Regions from separate parts of the Homo sapiens genome. Here region 1 is linked to region 2. Evidence: promoter capture Hi-C in 16 types of primary human blood cells and fetal thymus (Javierre and others, 2016). All regions are on one chromosome and are shown on one strand. The core of a region is centred on a gene start or on the middle of the fragment in contact, and the rest is flanking DNA. Distances in the headings are between cores, read along the strand shown.

Evidence for each region. The method cuts DNA at HindIII sites, captures the fragments that hold promoters and counts their contacts. A CHiCAGO score of 5 or more calls a contact.
Region 1: the fragment with the promoter of GINS1 here is called in contact with the fragment with the promoter of LINC01431 in region 2 in 1 of 17 cell types (non-activated CD4 T cells); the score reaches 5.6 in non-activated CD4 T cells.

Annotation. Positions count from the first base shown.
Region 1 is chr20:25,406,300-25,412,383 of GRCh38, reverse strand. It overlaps GINS1 (GINS complex subunit 1), which reads right to left and starts at 4,711. Exons shown (of 7, transcript NM_021067.5): 1 at 4,489-4,711. The coding sequence starts at 4,563. LOC105372581 (a long non-coding RNA gene) reads left to right here and starts at 4,089. Exons shown (of 3, transcript XR_937403.3): 1 at 4,089-4,313. RefSeq lists enhancers at 3,565-4,322, 4,420-4,669. The HindIII fragment of the contact is 9,972 bases long and covers 4,099-6,084 here.
Region 2 is chr20:23,355,493-23,361,189 of GRCh38, reverse strand. It overlaps LINC01431 (long intergenic non-protein coding RNA 1431), which reads left to right and starts at 3,063. Exons shown (of 3, transcript NR_109884.1): 1 at 3,063-3,235; 2 at 4,053-4,139; 3 at 4,221-4,596. It also overlaps a transcript of GZF1 not described here. RefSeq lists a silencer at 2,728-2,917 and enhancers at 2,968-3,357, 3,548-3,637. The HindIII fragment of the contact is 4,137 bases long and covers 1-4,079 here.

The DNA of each region.
Region 1 (6,084 bases), core at 3,462-5,961, 2.0 Mb before region 2:
CGGGGTTTCACTATATTGGCCAGGCTGGTCTTGAACTCCTGACCTCGGGTGATCCACCCGCCTCAGCCTCCCAAAGTGCTGGGATTACAGGGATGAGCCACTGGGCCCAGCTTAAAAGTGATCTTAAAAGGTTAATACCAAAAGAAAGAAAAAGGAATAGTGTTTTTGGTTTGCACTGCAAAAACCGGCCATAGGAGTTTTTCTAGTATCCAGTTTCGGGCAAATTTTCCCTTGGAAAAATAAAACATTAGAATTCTGATTTTTTTCGTTGTTGTTGAGATGAAGTCTCACTCTGTGGCCCAGGTTGGAGTGCAGTAGTGCGATCTCAGCTCACTGCAACCTCTGCCTCCCAGGTTTAAGTGATTCTCTTGCCTCAGCCTCTCGAGTAGCTGGGACTACAGGTGTGCACCAGCAATGCCCAGCTAATTTTTTTTTTTTTTGAGACGGAGTTTTGTTCTTGTCACCCAGGCTGGAGTACAATGGTGCAATCTTGGCTCACTGCAACCTCCGTCTCCCGGGTCCAAGCAATGATTCTCCTGCCTTAGCCTCTCAAGTAGCTGGGATTACAGGTGCCCATCACGTCCAGCTAATTTTTGTATTTTTAGTAGAGACAGGGTTTCACCATGTTCACCAGGTTGGTCTCGAACTCCTGACCTCAGGCAATCCACCCACCTCAGCCTCCCAAAGTGCTAGGATTACAGGTGTAAGCCACCAAGTCTGGCTAATTTTTGTAATCTTTTTTTTTTTGGTAGAGACAGGGTTTCGCCATGTTGGCCACACTGCTCTCAAACTCCTGACCTCAAGTGATCCGCCTGCCATGGTCTCCCAAAGTGCTGCGAGTACAGGCAGGAGCCACCGTGTCCAGCCCAAAATGATTAAATGTTACCCAATAGGTCTGCCAACAATCGAAAGAGAAGCAATCCCATCTCTTTTTCACTGTCTATTTTTAGGGCCAAAATATATGTGTTGGCAAAAATGCTGTGGCATATACAAATGGCACAATTCCAAAATCAACTACTCAACTCTGCTCAAAAGATGTAATTCCTGATGGAAAATGCAAGCATGACTTCTACCTGAGCCCAAGGTAATTTTCTTACCTTTTCCTTTTTGAGACAGGGATTCAGTCTGTCACCCAGGCTGGAGTGTAATAGCGTGACCACAGTTCACTGCAGTTTCAACTTCCTGGAGCCATGCAATCCTCTCACTTCAGCCTCCTAAGTTGCTGGGACTACAGGTGTGTGCCACCACACCCAGCTAATTCTATTTTTTGTAAAAATGGGGTCTCACTATGTTGCCCAGGCTAGTCTCGAACTCCTGGGCTCAAGTGTTCCTTCCACCTTGACCTCCCAAAGTGGTGGCTGGGATTACAGGCATGAGCCACCATGCTTGGCCTAACTTTCTTAAAAATGTACTTTTTAAAAAAAGTATCAATTCTGCATATAGAAAGGGTGTAATCACTTTTCTGTTTGCTGAACACAGCGCTTAACCATGAGTGATTCCAGAAGAAAAGCCTGTGTGTTGGGCCGGGCACGGTGGCTCACGCCTATAATCCCAGCACTTTGGGAGGCTGAGGTGGGTGGATCGCCTGAGGTCAGGAGTTCGAGACCAGCCCGGCCAAAATAGTGAAACCCCATCTCTACTAAAAATACATAAAATTATCTGGGCATGGTGGCAGGCGCCTGTAATCCCAGCTACTAGGGAAGCTGAGGCAGGAGAATTGCTTAACCCAGAAGGCGGAGGTTGCAGTGAGCCGAGATCACACCATTGCACTCCAGCCTGGGCCACAGGAGCGAAACTCCCATCTCAAAACAATAAAAAAAAGAGAAAAGCCTGTGTGGTCCTTGGGCCTCTCAGATCCACTGTCAGCCTTCCTCTGTGCCGCTGAGTCGGAGGCCAGCCTCTGCAGGCTGACTAAGTGTTCCAGGCTGCTGGATCACCTTGAGTATCAGGTGGGTTTGTCAGTGGAAGGCACTAGTGAGACAAAAGGTGCTCCACCAAATTAAGACCTACAAGACAGTGATTCTACAACTTTTTTTTTTTTTTGAGGCGGAGTCTCTCTCTGTCGCCCAGGCTGTAGTGCAGTGACCCGATCTTGGCTCACTGCAACCTCCGCCTCCCAGATTCAAGCCATTCTCCTGCCTCAGCCTTCCGAGTAGCTGGGACTACAGGCACATCCCACCACGCCTGGCTAATTTTTTGTATTTTTAGTAGATACGGGGTTTCACCATGTTAGCCAGGATGGTCTCAATCTCAGGACCCTGTAATCCGCCCGCCTCAGCCTCCCAAAGTGGGGGGATTACAGGCGTGAGCCACCACTCCTGGCCTGATTCTACAACTTCTAAGACCAGCCCCTAGCCCCACAAAGTGATAACCCAACACTTAACTTAAAATTTGAGTAAAACAGAGAGCTAAACTAAGTGTCAGAGTCAGGTCCAAAATCCAGCTTGGCCGCACCTGTTTGCACAGTCTCTCTGTTCTCTAGGCCTGTGTCCTGATATGTACAATGACCTCTAAAGTTCCTAGTTCTCAGGCCACATTTTAGCATTTACACACTTCTGCATTCAAGCATCTCTACTGAGCTGCAGACTGCTGCCTAACTTTTTAAATGAGGTAACTGCTCTGAAGTTGAAAAAACAATTGACTAGAAACTGGAAAACCTGTGTTCAAGTTGAAGCTCTACCTCCAATATGCTGTAAATTCAGACGAGTTCCTTAACTTGACCCATAATTTGTGTCAGCTCAGTTTCTTCATTTGTAAGACAATCTAATTGTCTGGCTAGGTGCTCTTTAGTGTTCAAAACAAAACTCATTACCTTTCCCAACACACTCTATCTCCTGAACTCTGATGTTGTTTACCCAGTTTCCTAAGGATCCTCCAAGATCCCAATTCCTCCCTCTTATTCATTATGGACCCCATCTCTGCCCCTGCTCTAATAGCTACAAGTCATGTTTGCTTCATGTCTCTAAAACCCAAACACTGATCTCAGTGCCACTGACCTGACACAGTTCAGACCACACACCTCTCACCTGCTCTATCAGCCACCCAGTAGCCATCTCCCTGTCCCATTCTTTCCTCTCTTCAATCCATTCCCCATATTGCTGCCGCAGTTACCTTCAAAACACAAAAATTACCCTATCACTTCCTTGTCTAAAATCCTCTACCAGCTCCCAGCATGCCTTATAAGTGAACAACAAATTCATGTAGGCTGTGAGCCACCTTCCTAGACTCCCCACAGGCCCTATTGGTCACCCTCTCCAGTGTGACCACGTGACTTTGTGCTGCAGCATCCTTTGGCTGGGATGCCTCGCTTCCTTCTCAGATCAGTAACCTCATCCTTGAGGATGGAAAGGCTCATATATCACCTCTTCTACCCCAGCTCATACTGGTGTTTCTCCTTCGTGCTCCTTGCTATACCTCCTTAGTATCACTTAGCGTGGTGAATTCTATTATCTGTTTTTGTGCCCATCTTCCAGCAGAATGTGTCCTGACATCCACATAATGCCTGCTCTATGACGTAAGTGAAATATACAATTTAGAGTGCAGGCTCTGGAGCCAGAGTGCCAGGGTTCAAATCCTAGCTTTCTTGCTGTGTCACCTTAGGCAATATACTTAAATCTCCCCAATCCTATGCATATATAGCTGAAAAAAGTAGAAAACAATAGTTTAAACATCAAAAAGTTATTTTTGTTTTGTTTGGGACAGGGTCTCCCTGTCACTCAGGCTGGAATGCAGTGGCAGGATCAAGCGATCCTCCCGCCTCAGCCTCCCAAAGTGCTGGGATTACAGGCAGGAGCCATGGTACCGGGCCCTCAAAGGGTTATTAGAAAGACAAAAGATAATGTACATGAAGTGCTTAGCACTCTCCCTGGGGTAGCAGTGATAGAAAAATACAAATAATCATAATATTAATAGTAACAGCAGCAGCAGGAGAAAAGTAATATTAATAGCTAACACTGACTCAGCCCTTACTGTATGTGAGGCATATGCAGAGACCCTTACACATGCCACTCATTTTGCGTCCACTACATCATGCGTTGGGTACTATTATTGTCACCATCCCCATTTTTGCGTATGAGAAAACTGAGAGCACAGAAAGCTTGAGTAACTGCCCCAAAGTCACACTACAGAACCAGAATCTCAGCCAGGTTCCAGAGGCCTAGCTTTTACTGACCACGATTAGATGCCTGAGTGAGCAAGAAATGCTAAATTATCAGGCAACCTGTAAATATTTTAAGGGACCGGAACAAATCTGTCCAAGGAAAACTGCTAAAATGCAAAATTTGCTCAGATGAGGAAATTCACCAAATCGCTGGGTAGCGTAAGCATGAATGCTTTCTCTTTCCTCCTGAATTTTGTTTTGCTGCTTCCCAAGTTTTCCGGAGCTCGGAGGGAACAAGGTGCGAAAGTGAACCCTGACGGGGAGCCGCCCCGCCCCAGAGCCCAGGGCCCAACGCCGGCATGCCCCGTCCAAGTCTACCCGCCCCTCACGTTGAAGGCAGGCAGTTGCCCTTCGGGCGCGCGATGCAGCTCGCGGATCAGTTCCATGGCTTTTTCGCAGAACATGGCGGACGCTTCCCACTCCCGCGGCCTTGCCAACCACCAGCTCTCACGCCAAAATGGTATCTGGGCTCTCGGCGCCTCACTCCTTTCGTTCTAGTCCTACAGCGCCAGGCTCTCGCCTCGGCCTCCGCTCCGCGCTTTGGCGCCGAACAAAGCTAGCCAATAGGAACGCGCCTACGGCGCCCGAAAAGGGACATCCACCGCTCAGCCGCATTCCAAGAGGGGCGGAGTGGGAGGGGTCTTTCCAAGGTGAGGTCCCCGCCCCGGAGATGGCAGAACCCCTCGGCTGAGCAGAGACGGCTTTTCCAGTTCTCAGGCAGTGGGCCGGGGGACTCTACGGGCAGCAGAGCTGGAAATAAATGCACGCCCCGCAGCTTCCTTGTCATTTTCCTTTTGATTCATTCATTCTCGTTTAGGTTCAAGAAAAGAGCACTTTGAGGTTAAGAGGAAAGGCCCAAAAACTTGGTGTGCATTGGTAGGACGCAAGGGTTTCAGTTTTGCAGTGCGGGTTTTCTGTTTGATATTAAAATGAAACTCTCTTTTATTGGGTACCTAGTGCTGGTAGGGACTGCAGTGTGTATTTCATTCCCACAATTATCTCTGAAGTGTTTTAAGACCCGGGATTAATAAGGAAACAGAAGTTAGGTAACTTGCCCAAGGTCACACAGCTCCAGAGTGATTAGACTGTTATTTAGGCTTTCCATTTCCAACACCACAGTACCACCCTTTGATTTTAAAATAGTCTTTTAAAAATATTTGTAATATCTGCCCTAGATTAATACGAATTCACTAGGAATTTTCTTGGCTAGATGGTTATGGAATATTTCTTAAGCATATGGAAGATGGGAATCACTGCTAAAGAATTGTTTTATTAGGCAATTTTTCAAAAAGCAATGTTAATTTCTAACAAGCAATCTTGGATTTTTTTTTTTTTGAGATGGAGTCTCGCTCTGTCGCCCAGGCTGGAGTGCAGTGGCGCGAACTCGGCTCACTGTAAGCTCCGCCTCCCGGGTTCACGCCATTCTCCTGCCTCAGCCTCCCGAGTAGCTGGGACTACAGGCGCCCGCCACCACGCCCAGCTAATTTTTTGAATTTTTTAAGTATAGACGGGGTTTCACCGTGTTAGCCAGGACGGTCTCAATTTCCTGACCTCGTGATCCGCCCACCTCGGCCTCCCAAAGTGCTGGGATTACAGGCATGAGCCACCGCAACCGGCGCAATCTTGGATTAATTCTAGCTAACCCTAGAAACTATGTTGATCTTTTGCAAATATACAGTAGATATGTCATCTAAGGAATGGGCATGGGAATGGCCTACTCAGGCTTATGTTGAATAATGACATTGCCTTTTTTTTTTGGAGACAGGGTCTTAACTCCCGTTACCCAGGTGGAGTGCAGTGGCGCCATCTCAGCTCACTGCAGCCTCCACTTCCCGGGCTGAGGTAATTTTCCCCCCTCAGCCCTCTGAGTAGCTGGGACTACAGGCTCAGGCCACCACACCTGGCTATTTTGTATTTTAAGTAGA
Region 2 (5,697 bases), core at 1,814-4,313:
ACACGTTGAGTTTGTAATGTTTGGGGACTGTCAGGACAAATACAAATTTAAAATAAGGTTTACTACTTCCTGTTGAAAATATGAGATTTCCCTCCCTTTTTCTTCGAACATTTACTTTTAGAAAATTGGTAATTAGTGTAAGTACTTTTTCCTCTCTTTGAAATATATAAATCCTTTTGAAGACTAGTTAGGCCTTTTTGTGCGCTTTATAACCTAGATATGTCTTTTTCTAGGACCTAGGAGCCATCTCTTTAAGTATCAAGGGAGTTAATGCCCCTGTCTCCCAGTTTTAATGGGGGAGTAGGAGCCTAACTTCAGTGGGCCCTTTGCTCCAACTTACAAAATTATCTCATATCATAAAGATACAAGTTTCTTTTTCCTCTAGATAAAGCCAATTGGCTAACACAGAGGATCATCCCAAATATCAGGTTAGATGAACTGTGTGTGATGAAAAATGCTGCCAAGTTCCCTTGAGAGCTAGTTATTGTTTATCTTGAAAATGTGTGTAATAGATTGCTTGGCTGCACAAAAGAGTGAGATTTCGTTCTGTCTTTGCAGTCTCTTAATGGATTGCCTGTGATGGGTATCACATTCTAGTTTAATGCTTATTCAATTACAAAGTGTTTTCTTTCTCCACTACCTTTCTGAAGAGGGTTGGGAGATTGTACTTTTAATTATATTTCCTGAACAGGAGCCAGCTTCCCACACATAGTAGGTGCTCAATAAATATTTGAAGAATGAATGAGTGACAGAAATCTTTCTTAGGCCGACTCTCTATATTTGCATTCCATGATTTGAAGAAATTGGAATGAACGCAGTTTTCACCCATGGCTCCAGCAGGCCCAGAATCGTGTTTTATGATTTTGTTTTGCATTACAAAAAGGTGGTCAGGCACGGTGGCTCACGCCTGTAATCCCAGCACTTTGGGAGGCCGAGGCGGGCCGATCACTTGAGGTCAGGAGTTGAAGACCAGCCTGGCCAACATGGTGAAACCCCGTCTCTGCTAAAATACAAAAATTAGGCCAGGTGCGGTGGCTCACACCTGTAATTCTAGCACTTTGGGAGGCTGAAGTGGGCGGATCACCTGAGGTCAGGAGTTCAAGACCAGCCTGGACAACATGGTGAAACCCTTTCCCTGCTAATAATACAAAAATTAGCTGGGCGAGGTGGTACATGCCTTTAATCCCAGCTATTCAGGAGACTGAGGCAGGAGAATCGCTTGAACATGGGAGGCAGAGGTTGCAGTGAGCGGAGATTGCACCACTGCATTCCAGCCTGGGCAACAGAGGAAAACTCTGTCTCAAAAAAACAAAACCAAATTAGCCGGGAGTGGTGACAGGCACTTGTAATCCCAGATGCTCAGGAGGCTGAGGCAGGAGAATCACTTGAACCCAGGAGATGGAGGTTGCAGTGAGCTTCGATCATGCCATTGCACTCCAGCCTGGGCAATAGAATGAGACTCCGTCTCCGATTATGTTAGCTAGCATAACATAATGCTAGCTTATCCATTCAATACTGAAAGGATTGCTTTAGTTGAGTGTCTTAATAGCTTTAAAAATAGAGGTCATAAGACTCACAGACTCTTTGTGGCAATACTAAATGATAAAGAATGAAGGGCCATGCCTGGCAAGGGTTGTCATGCACCTCTACACTTCAAGAAGAAACTATGCCTTAACTGCCACAAGGTTTTTATTCTCTGGCAGCCAAACAAGCACTGGCCTCTAGATAAGCAATATTCAAACAATGTGCTTTTCATCCACCTCCACATGCTGACTGACACGCCCCCTGCCCCAGCCCCACCACTTCCACAAATAATTACTGCTTTGATTGGACCAGAGACTGACTGCAGTAACTTTTTCCTGATGGGAAACAACCGAACAGGGGCTGATTCTGGCGGTTTACAGAGGCTGCACACAAGTGCATCGGTGTCCTGAAAAGATCTTTCAACTTATAGGGTCTAAATGTAATACATGAATACCTGTAAATGCTAAGAGTCCACCCCAAAGTAAACATAGGTCACCTGTAACATGCACGTTTGTCCAGTAAGCATGGGTCAGGACCCGTTTCATGAATATTCATAGCTCTTCCTGTGGCCTGTTCATATGTGTACTTGGCTAAGTCCTTCAGCTTAAATTCCTGTCTTAGGCCCCCTTCCCTCCAGCTGCCTGCCTTTTGAGCTTCTGCCAGAAGCTATGCTTCCCAGCCTGTCAGAAGGGCCACCTTGCAGGTTATCACCGTTTAAAGAAATAAAGCTCTCCTTTCTATGTTTGTGATCTTTTTTTTAAATAATACAAATAGACAATTCACTTGACAGTGTGAATGGCATACTTCACTGACAATGGAATACTATAAAAACAATAATAAACCACTGATAAACATCAACCTGACAAAGTTAAATATAGTGTTTCATGCTGTAGAACTCTGCACGAGAAAAGTACACGGGAGTGAACAATTGTTACGTAAGGGCGTTCACTGCAGTGCACTTACATTAGTGAAACTTTGGAAACAATCTCACCTATAAGGAGATGGCCGAAGAATTTGATATATCCAAGCACTGGATTATTATGCCGGTCATTAAAACAATGTTTAAAAATATGTGTAATAGCTTGGGGAAATGCTCACCATGTTATAATGAGTAAAGACGGTACACTATTTTACATAGGGTCTGATGTGATTTGAAAACAAATCTATAGAAATAGACTGGAAAGAAATGTATCAAATTCTAAACTGCACAAGGAAGAACACTGACGCACGCGCAACGCCGGCGCCCTGCCCACTAGGCGCCCTCGCTGCCCCTCACCTGCACAGCCGGCGCACGCCCACAGGCTCGTGAGGGAGCGGCCGGTGGGTCAGGCTGGGCGGCACTCCTCGCCCATTGGCTGTCCCGGAGTCCGGCCCCGCCTCTCCCCGCCTTCTGGAGCCGCTGGTATAGCTCCTTCCAGGGCTCCTTGGAGACGGAGGGCGGGGCTAGGGCGCCGGAGTCACGTGGTCGCGCCACCGCGCGATTACTAGCTGTCAAAAGAGTCCTCAGAAGTGTCCTGAGCGGTCGCAGGGTAATGACGTCGGCCGTATCGGGGATGCTGGAACCTGCGGTTGAGTGAGAAACCGGCGCCACCGCCTGCGTCTTGGTCTCGGGCTGGTGGCCAGCGGGGTCTGGGCGTGGTTTTACCCAGCTCCTTTGCGAAGCTGCTGTCCTTTCCTCAACGTTACCACCCGGCTGGGCAGCCTACCCTCGGTCAGTACGTCCTGGCAAGAGCGCTTCGGGCGTGGCGTTCGTGTCGCGGGGGCCTCGGCTCAGAAGCGAGGGAAGAGCAGCCCTCAGAGGAGCGGCGACCGCGCTTACCGGGAGCCCGGGTTGGGAGAGGGCTCCCCAGGAGGGGTGTGAGCTCCGAACGAGAAAGAACGCCACCGCCTCGTGGGGTCTCTTCCTAATGTGCAGATTCCAAATCTCTACAATGCTGCAAAAGAGGTTACAGTCCACATCAAATTAAGCATGCCCTAAAGGGCAGCTGGGGTTCAGTTCAAGAGTTGAGTTTTAACACACACCTTTACCTGCCTTAAAATTGGGCAAGGTATCACAACGTTAAACCATTTCTCACAAGGCTCGTTGGTGATGTTTAAGATTTTTTGTTTGTTTGTTTGTTTTTTGTTACGGAGTCTCGCTCTGTCGCCCAGACTGGAATGCAGTGGCGCGATCTTGGCTGACTACAACCTCCGCCTCCTGGGTTCAAGCGATTGTCCTGCCTCAGCTTCCTGAGTAGCTGGGATTACAGGCGCCTGCCACCACGCCCAGCTAATTTTTCTATTTTTAGTAGAAACGGGGTTTCGCCTTGTTGGCCAGGCTGGTCTTAAGTTTTGCATCCTGGCTCCCTCCTCTTACCTAGTCCCAGCCTCTTGTCTACAGGACAAAGCAACTTTCTGCAGTTTTCTGTTTGCTCTTTAGAGAGACGGGGCCCTAATTTGGCAAAGTGGTAGGGGAGACAGGGCTGGTGTTTAAGGTCGACCAAAGCAACATCTAAATCTCTGCTCTTCCCCCAAATTGTCCAAATTAGCAGCAACAGGTGTGCACCTTCCAAGCTTGCAACAGACCACATTCAGAAGCTTGATTTCTTGTTGTTCTGGGAATATCTGGATCAGAGGTAACATGGTTCACTAGGACTCCTCAGCTTCACCCAGTGTCCATTTCACCTCCCCCGGCCTTCCAATGTCTCTTCTTGCAGATTTCTCCAAGCCACTCTCCCCGTCATCTCCTCCACCCCCAGGACCCAACTCCTGCCCCTCCCACCCTAGCCCCTGTTCTCCCTGCCCACCTCCTACCCCACTGGAGTGGCCTTTCATCAAACCTAAACCAAAGAAACCAACAGACCTTGCTGTCACCACTACTCCGGGACCTGGAAGTTAAAGCGAGGGAGAGACGGTGAAACACAGAAAGCAGAACGCCTTCTGTTCTTCCACAACACAGGGTTTGTGGACGTGGCCACTATAAGAACTCGCACTGCGTGCTGATTATACTCCTCAGCACAATTCATTTCTTAAACTTTTTAGAATAATTTAAAATTTACAAAAAGTTGCAAAAATAAAAACCAGTAAACTTTTCACCTTCATCTGCCTTATAATTAAGGCAGCGGGCAGCGCGCTGGACAGAACGGGAGGGGCTTGCGCTTTCCGCCGGTGGGAAACCCCACCCGCAGGGACGAGCCGGGACCATCTGGCCCTACCTGCCGAACGGCCGCTTGGTGGAGATGTGTCCCAGAACCGAAGGAGGAGGGTGCCACGCACATTTGTCTTGCCTTCCCCGGTGGCGGGGGCATGGCAAGGGCGGAGCTTCCCGCTGTGCCCTTGGAGGCCGCCTGCAACCAGGCTAGTGTAGGTGGGGACGCACGCCCTGTACCCTACCCATCCTGCCCATTGCGGGTCTGGCCCGGACCTGAAGGGCAGTAGTTGGGGCCGTCCCCGCGTCTTCTGGGCCCTGTAGTGAATACAGTCTGCCCCATTCAAATCCTTTTCCTCACTTAGGATTACTGCTGTGTGTCAGTGTCACACACCCCAAATTGATAATGGCTTAAGATGGGATTTCTCATTTAAAAAGAAGTCTTTGGTTGAGTGAGCTGGGGCTATTTTGGTGTTTCCACATGGGACCTAGGCTCCTTTTAGCTCAGCACTATCCTACGTCTAGGGTATGGCTGAGCTGTTCTCTTGGCCAAGACTGAGCCAGAGCCCGTGGTCAGGTCAGCATAACCTTTCCAGGCAGCAGGATAGAGTGGGAAAGAAAGAAGGGTCTGTTGAAGGAAAATTCCCCCAAGTTCAGTCCTACTTCATTGGCCAGAACTTAATCACATGTCAGACCTAGCTACAAATTGAATGAGAAAGTCAAGTATTTAAGGTGGGTCCCTTATCTCTCAAAACACTGGGCTTCAGATAATAGAGAAGGGAAGGGGTGTCAAGAGGAAACGGCTACCTGTGTCACTGTGCTTATCAGGATTCTTACCCTTCTCAAAATTTCCCATTGCAGTATCTTGACTACCCTATCCCAAACCTAGCACACTTTTACCAAAGACAACTTAACTGGGGAAGCTGCAGCATGGCAGGCACATCATCTATTGGTCCAACTTCTATAGGGTTTTCTATTCTTTACATTGAAGAAATGCAATTGGGTTTGGCCTTTAGGATCAGTAACAGCAGCTTCTGGTTCTGATG